Linked DNA regions of Homo sapiens: region 2 is linked to region 1. Evidence: promoter capture Hi-C in 16 types of primary human blood cells and fetal thymus (Javierre and others, 2016). All regions are on one chromosome and are shown on one strand. The core of a region is centred on a gene start or on the middle of the fragment in contact, and the rest is flanking DNA. Distances in the headings are between cores, read along the strand shown.

The links. The method cuts DNA at HindIII sites, captures the fragments that hold promoters and counts their contacts. A CHiCAGO score of 5 or more calls a contact.
Region 2: a fragment that was not itself captured here is called in contact with the fragment with the promoter of PHF24 in region 1 in 3 of 17 cell types (M2 macrophages, megakaryocytes and erythroblasts); the score reaches 7.3 in M2 macrophages.

The regions. Positions count from the first base shown.
Region 1 is chr9:34,956,076-34,960,581 of GRCh38, forward strand. PHF24 (PHD finger protein 24) reads left to right here and starts at 2,210. Exons shown (of 8, transcript NM_015297.3): 1 at 2,210-2,326. RefSeq lists an enhancer at 769-908 and a silencer at 2,258-2,337. The HindIII fragment of the contact is 16,428 bases long and covers 1-4,506 here.
Region 2 is chr9:35,471,092-35,475,000 of GRCh38, forward strand. It overlaps the pseudogene ATP8B5P. Among named protein-coding and RNA genes, the nearest start is that of RUSC2, 17 kb to the right of the region's middle. The HindIII fragment of the contact is 1,104 bases long and covers 892-1,995 here.

The DNA of each region.
Region 1 (4,506 bases), core at 960-3,459:
TTCCATTGTATTTCATTCCTCTATTGCGCACACTGATTTTCTCTTTTGTATTATGATTATGGTTCTCTGTCAATGCTTGTCCTCTATGAGATTATAGTTCTTTGAGGGAAAGTACTGTGTCTTACTCTTATTTGCACCCTTTCTAGTTCTCAGCACAATGCCTGGCATTGTACAGATACACAATGTACTTTTGTGTGTGTGTGTGACGGAGTTTCGCTCTGTCACCCAGGCTGGAATGCAGTGGTGCGATCTTGGCTCACTGCAACCTCTGCCTCCTGGATTCAAGAGATTCTCCTGCCTCAGCCTCCCGAGTAGCTGGGACCACAGGCGCGTGCCACTGCACCTGGCTAATTGTTGTGTTTTTAGTAGAGGTGGGGTTTCACTATGTTGGCCAGGCTGGTCTCGACCTCAGGTGACTCACCTGCCTCGGCCTCCCAAAGTGCTGGAATTACAGGCGTGAGCCACCACGCCTGGCCACAATATAAATTTTTTTGAATGAAGGAAGGAATTAACCGACAGAGATTTATATGATGATGTTACAACCTCCTTTTCCATATAAGCCCATCAGACAGCCTAGAAATAAAACACTTACTAAAAACAGTTCAGAGAAGTCTATCTGTGAAACTGTCGGTATGATGTAATTCTAAAGAAAGTTAGGGGGGGACCCCCAGACTATATGGAAGGCTCAGTCTGCTTTTTAGTGCTAGTTTCACAACAAGCAAAATAACCATAGTGTCTCTTGAGAAATAAGCACTAATTTTAGAACTAATAAGTACTAATTTTAGAACTCCATATATTAATGGTTTATAGCCTCTCCTTTCTCAGTGGCAGGACTGAGAAATAGGAGCTTGCGGTATGAAATCAGAATACCTGAATTTCAGTCTCACCTCCATCACATATTAGCCATGTGACCTTGGGCGAGTTGTTTAACCTCTCTTTGCCTCAGTTTCATCACTGGCAAAATGTCGAAACTAACAGTAGACTCCCTCAAAGGGATGGTGTGAAAATTAATGACAACATATTTAAACCATTTAGAATAGTACCTGGCACTTCGTGTTTTAAAGTGATAGAAATATACCATACTTGCCTTATATCCTCTATTGGTAAATTCCATGTTAAGGGCAAAATTTCTTTTTTATATCGCACCAGGGTACCTAGCACAGTATGTAACAAATACTAGACGCTCAAAAAAATGACATGCATTATATTTGAGGTAAATAAATTGAATGCACAAGAAAATAAAGGTATTTTAAAAATGTAAGTGCAATTAATATAAATTAAAGGGCTCTCGACATATCATTTGCATATCTTCAATTTTTCCTTATAATTAGTTGCTGGCTATCTTACGATTTTATCTTTTTCTTGCCCTCTTCAAAGCATGTAGTTTGGTGTAATGCACATTATAGCCCTCAGAATTGCTGGCCTTCTGACAAGCTAGCTGTTTGGATATTGTGAGGGATGAGGTTGCTGCAGCAAAAAGTGGGTTACACGACAGCACAGCCTCGCTGCTGGAGATGAAAAACCAATAATCCCAGAAAACAGCGCATAGGGTAGGCTGGGCCAGCCGAGGATTATGTGAAGGTTCGTTGGGACCCTCCGGAGGCCAGTGGGGTACTGCAAAGGTGAGTGCCCCAGTGCCAGGGGTCGTGAGCCCGGAGCCCTGCGGGGGACGGCTGGTAGGCCCTGCTGGATGAGTCATTCTCCCCACCCCGGGCACGTGCTGGTGGCGGCATCCACCCGGACCCCGCCTTCCCCCCACCCAACCCCCGGCGCGGAACGCGAGCGGTGAGCGGCCCCAGCGCCCCCAAGGCGCCCCCTCCGGGCCGCCTCCTCCGGGCGGGCACTGTCCTTGCCGCAGTCGGCCGCTGGCGCAGTCCCCGCGCCGCAGTGCCGGGCGCTCGTGGGGGGCGCCCACGGGCACCTGGGCCGTCTGCTCATCGGAGCCGTCCGCCGTCCTCCCGCATTCCCACGGCGCCCCACGCCCGCGCGCCCGTCGCCGGTCACCCGCCGCCCGCGGAGCCGCGAGGGCGTCTCCTGGAGGCGCAAGAGGACTGGGCGGGGCGGGGCGCGCCCACCGGCCGGCCCAGGGCACCTCGCGCGGGTGCACACGCCGCAGCCCCCCGGGGCGGGTGGGTGTGCTCCGGCCGCGCGCGCCGCCGCCGCCGCCGCCGCCGCCGCCGCCTCCTCAGCCTGCCGCTCCGCCCGCGCCGCCTGCTGCCGGCGCTCGGCCCAGCACGCCGGCTCTCGGGCTGCCGTGGGCTGCGCGGGGCCCGCGGTGTGTAGAGTCCGCCGCCCCGGAGCCGCGTCCCGCACCCGGACGGTCCCGGTAAGCGGGGGCGGGGGCGGCGGGGACCGGGCCGTCACCTGAGGGGCGGGTCTGCGGCCGCGGACAGTCCTCCGGGACTCTGAGGTGCTTGTGTGGGAGCCGCCTCCAAGGTGGCCCCCCTGTGTCATTGGATGAACCCCAAGTAGCTGCTGCCTCTACGCCTTGGGGGAGTCCCTGAGGTGCTGTGGGGAGCCGCCCCCATAAAGACCCCCTGTGGGAATGGACTCCCGCGGCGCTGTCTGCATTTGCTGCCATAGGGAGCCCCAGCGTGGAGGGGACTGGCCCCAGAGAGCCCTTCTGTGTCACTGTGGGAGCAGGCACAAGGGTGGTCTCTGGAGCTGGCTCAATGGAAGACCACCTGGGAACATAGGGGAGCCGCAGGAACCTCGAGGTGGTGGAGCCCCCAGAGGGCTCCCTAGAAAAGGAGGACCTGAGACTGTGCCCTAGAACTGTGGGAAGCAACCTCTGACTGGGGAGGGGGATCCTCCCATGGGATCCATGAGTGACTTCCCACGGCTCCAAGGACTTTGGCCTCCACCGGGATCCCTGTAGGGTTCCATGTGCCCTTACTTGTATCCCCACACCGTGGCCCAGAGGTGGGGGCCTTCTAGGGCTGCAGCCTCTTTCCATTCCTCCTCTTTCCCCATTCGGATTTTTCTTCTCCATGGTAGCCCAGTTGCTCCACGCTGCATTTTAGTGGAGACAGAAACTGCTGCGAGAGCACAGGGCCCTAAGCCGAGGATGAGGACCAGTGAGGCCTCTAAAGCAAAGATAGGAGATTTGAGCCCCTAGGTTTGACCGTGCGGAAGGAAGCAGTAAGATCAGGTGGAATAACTGACTTTGGCAGGTCCTGGAGGGAAAGGCCTTTGAAGGAAGGAATAAAGGATGTATGGGATTGTTGAGCACCAGTACGCTAGGCAGTATACTAGGTATGTTTAAACATCTCATATAACTCTTACAACAGCTTTGTGAAATTATCCCCTTTTAAACATTGAGACTCAGAGAGGTTTAGCAATTTGCCCAAGGTCACAAAGCTGATGAAAAACATAATCATAAAATGTTTTTCAAATTTTATTTGGGAAAAAGTACTAAGGAGCAGCAGAAGAAAGAATAGATATTTGTTAATAAGTTGCATTAAGGTGCCTGCCGAGCATAGGGTTTTGCAGTGGTACAAGCTCAGTAAATGTGATGATTAAATAAGTGGATGAGGACAGTTTAACTGGCCATGAGATTGCTGCAGGAACTGATTTCCACAGAATCCCCAGATTTCAGGGTGTGGCTTCCTTCACTGGCAGTCCCACTGTCATGATGCCTTGGGGTGGCTCTGGACCTAATTGAGGCCTCTGGGTGTGGTTTTTGACAGGGCTTTCTCTGGGGATCTAGGGGGACCCTTCTGCGGATGGAGTGTCCCAAGACCACCCTACCTGCTACCGAATACTCGAAGGAGAGAAAGGAGAGACAGGATCACTTTTAGGAAGCACGATCCACACTGTCCTTGTGACCCTCTGACTACATGCACCGGTGGACAATGGTCCACAGATAGCACTCAGGACACTTTTGCCCAAGAGTGCCTCTGCATGAGGAGGAGGAGGACAGGAAAGGTGCAGAGCCAAGGAAGGCTCACTGGGAGTCTGTTAGGGGGAGCGCAAAGGGTCTGCGCCAGACATAGTGTTGCCTCCTCATCTCGCCCCCTCGTTGTTTTCATTCTAGCTGAATCCCAAGAGTTCAACTTTGAGCTCCAAGGATGGATTCTGGTTTCTTGTCCAAAAACGGAGTGGTGAGAGGGCCAAGCAATGATATTCATTAGAGCCATTCTGGAAGGGTTTTCCTGCTCCCCTTCCCTGCTTTCTTCCACACAGTCAAACCTAGTTAAATCCTCCTTGAACAGAAGTGGCTTCCTTTGGCTCCTGGAATTACATAGTGAGGAGAGAGACCAAGCTAGTGGGAAAACAGAACAACATAGTTTACCAGTTGTTAGATTTTTTTTCTTTTAACTCAGTGATGCTACCTTGCGCGCAACTCAGTGGAGTAAAGCCCGACAAAGGTTTTTGTTGGTTAGGACCTCCCCATTGTAAAGTTGTTTATAATCCCCCTTTCAGTTCAAACCCATCTGATCAGCTTAACAGATCAGAATAAATAGGTAGGCATATATTTAAAGAAAGTCAGAAGGACCAAACCTG
Region 2 (3,909 bases), core at 194-2,693, 510 kb after region 1:
CACACCAGCACAGGCTCGTACTACCACCCTTACTGAGGAGCTCGGCCAAGTCAAATATGTGTTCTCTGACAAAACAGGGACTCTGACTCAGAACATTATGATTTTCAACAAATGTTCTATTAATGGGAAGCTCTATGATATGCATGTCTTCCTGCTTTCCCCAAGTCCTGGGAAATTTTTACTTTGCAAATTGTTTTCAAGACTAATCTAGCTCTAAATCTGTAAGCCTCTGGAATTCACATTTATCTCCTATTCTCACAACTGTCTCTATTCTCTAAGCAAAGACCACCCAGCCCAAACAGTTCTAACCAAAAAGCATTTATTTAGCATCTTATAGGTACAATCTATTGTGTTGGGCATTGAGAATACCGAGATGTGCAAGACTTAGTCTCTGTCCTCAAGGAGTCCCCAATGTCTATGTACTCAGTTCACTCCCACTTTAAATCAGATGGATGTTGGTCAAAGGGTACAAAGTTTCAGTTAGGCAGGAGGAATAAGTCTTCAAGATCCATTGCACAGCATGTTGATCCTAGTTAATAATAATGTATTGCATATTTCAAAATTACTAAAAGAGTTTTAAATGTTCTCACTACAAAAAAATAAGTATGCAAGGTGATAAATATGTTAGTTAGCTTGATATAATCATTCCATGGTGTATACATATATGAAAACATCACATTGTATCCATAAATATATACAATTAGTATTTGTCAATTAATAATAAAATTAAAAATAAATTAAATGGAGCAGTCAATGTATTACTGAAGCTGCTAATTTCTTGATTCCCCTTTACAGCAATAAATATTATTGAGAGAAACCATCAAAGGGTAGTCAGAGTTTGATCAGTGTCTCCCAGGCCCAATCCCTTATTTATCTTATGCCTTAAGCATAAGCTTGTTTTTGTGATAGAGTTAAGTCCTCATGTGTGTGAACAGTCATACCCAGTGTCCTAGCTAACAGAGGAAGGTAATCACATCTAAAAAACTAGAACACATGGAATAATCTTTCTGGGGTGACGAAAAAGTTTAGAAACTTGAGAGAGGTGGTAGTTGCACATTGTAAATGCACTAAATGCCTCTAAATTGTACACATTAAAATGGATAATTATATGTTAACTAAGTAAATTTCATATCAATAAGTAATTGAAATTTTTTAATTAAAAAAAGCTAGGCCGGGTGCGTTGGCTCACGCCTGTAATTTCAATACTTTGGGAGTCTGAGGCAGGCGGATCACCTGAGGTCAGAAGCTCGAGACGAGCCTGGCCAACATGGTGAAACCCCATCTCAACAAAAAATACAAAAATATTAGCCAGGCATGGTGGCACATGCCTGTAATCCCAGCTACTTGGGAGGCTGAGGTGGGAGAATTTCTTAAACCCGGGAGGTGGAAGTTGCAGTGAGCCAAGATCATGCCACTGCACTCCAGCCTGGGTGACAAGAGTGAAACTCCTGTCTAAAAAAAAAAAAAAAAAAGACTAGAGCACTCTAATATTTCCTATTATTTCCTATATTTCCTATTATTTGTTTGGTAACCATGTCAAACAAATTTTCACTTATATAAACTCTGAAGGCTTATTTTTGGATGAGCTGATTTGGGTGAGCCTCTTAATTCTCTGACCTGACCATATACTGGGTAAAGTTGAAAAGGACCATGAGTGTTTCCATGCTTGGCATCAGACATGTCTTCTACCCCTATTCAGTCTGTCATCCACTGGTCAAGAATCCCAAACATTCTAAAACTGTGTCCACATCTCTTCTGGGTAACTCTTATGATTGGAGGGCTTCCTGAGGTGTGAAGTCTATCACAGATCCAGTGACTAACTTCTAGCTTCATCTTATTCTCACTTAGGGGAGAAGAGTTGAGGCCCAAGCAAACCTCTTCTTACCATTGGCTTAGGGAAAGGAGCTTACTGGGAACTGGGAGCTAGGTGGCCTGAGGAGACTGGGGGGCAGGCATCTTGACTGCAAGTCTAGGATGAAGGAATCAGAATAAATAAGCTTTTAAGGCCCCTCCTTTAAATCACCATATGACCCAGCAATTTGATTCCTAGGTATATACCCCCAAAACTTGAAAACAAGAACTCGGATACATGTATACCAACGTTCATTGTGACATTATTCGCATAAGTCCAGAGATAGAAATAACCCACATGTCCATCCACAGATGAATGGATAAAGAAACTGTGGTATAGCATATACATACAATGGAATGTGAATCATCCATAAAAAGTAATGAAATTTGATACATGCTACAACATGGATGAACCTTGAAAGCATTATGCTAAGTGATGTAAGCTAAACACAAAAAGACAAAAATTTTATGATTCTACTTATGTGAACTATCTAGAATAGGCAAATTCATAGAGACAAAAAATAGACTAGAGGTTACTAGGGGCTGGTGATGGGAAAAAATGGGAAGTTTCTGTTTGGGGTGCTGAAAAAATGTTGGAAATATATAGTGGTGATTGTTGCACAACATTGTGAATATAATTAATGTCATTGCATTTTACATTTAAAATAGTTAAAATGGCAAGTTTTATGTGATATATATGTATATTTTTTTAACAACAATTTAAAGAAATTCAAACCCTCCTTTAAAACCCTTGCCAAGTCTCTGCTGTGTTCACTTACCAACAGGTGATACTTATGACAAGGATGGACAGAGGGTGACGGTCTCTGAGGTGAGTGATTACAGCTCCATGGGAAATGCATGTGGGAGCTGAGTGAGGCTGTGCTTCAGAGAAGCATCCTTAATACAAATCGAGACTCCCTTAGCCACTGAAATATTAAAGCTTTTACTGGTCCTGTAATATCAGAAAGCATTATATAAATGACCTATGTTTAATTCTGAAGATCTTCGTTTGTTCTTTTTAAACAAAAATAGCTTTATTGGCTTTTTCTCTTTAAAAAATAATCCATGCTCACTGTAAAAAAAAAAATTAAATAATACAGAAATGTGTGAAGAAAGTTAAAATTATTCCATCCCATTTAGATAGCCAGTGTAAAGTTGGGGAGTATATCCTATGCTTTTCATATGTGTATACACACACACATATGTACATCTAGATCTAGAAGATGGGGGAGATAAAATCATAGTATGCATGCTATTTCCAGTTTCCTTTTGTTCACTTGACACTATTATTGTCGTCATCTTTCCATGTCGGTAGGTCTAGGTCTACATCATCATTTTGAATGGGTGTCCACTATTCAGTTGTATCACTGTACCTTAATTTATTTAATTTCTTATTTTTATTCCATTTTCCTTTGCGATTACAAATGACATTTTGGTAATCATTATGGAACATACATTTTGTCTACTTTTCTGATAATTATTTCTTTAGAATAAAGTCCTAGAAGTAAAATTCATTGGTCAAAAGGTAGCCACGTTTTAATACATTAAATAGTGCCACATTGCCCTCCAGGTAGATTCGCATAACTTTATAATCCCACCAAAAATATATGACATTTTGTTTTCCCCCATATGCTTGTCAGAACTGGTATTAACAATTTTTAATCTGTTGAAATTTAATTGATGAAAAATGGTATCTAATTATTTAATTTACCTTTTTTGATGACTAATTAGGTTGAATCATTTTTATGTGCTTATTTTTCTTCCCCTTATCATCTCTTTATTGCCCATTTACACTTACTTTGTGAACTGTCTATTCATATTCTTTGGCCTTTTTTTCTTATTTGAAAATGCTCTTTATACAGTAAAAATACTAGCTCTTCCTTTTTCTGGTGCATATGTTATAATTATTTTTCCCATTTTGTCTTTTGGTTTTTAATTTGTTAAATAATATTTTGTGTAGAAGTGTTTAATTCATGTAATCAAATCTATCAGTCATTTTCCTTTGTAACTTAAGGATTTGTGACATATTCAACAGGCTTTATAAAATTATAAAAATAT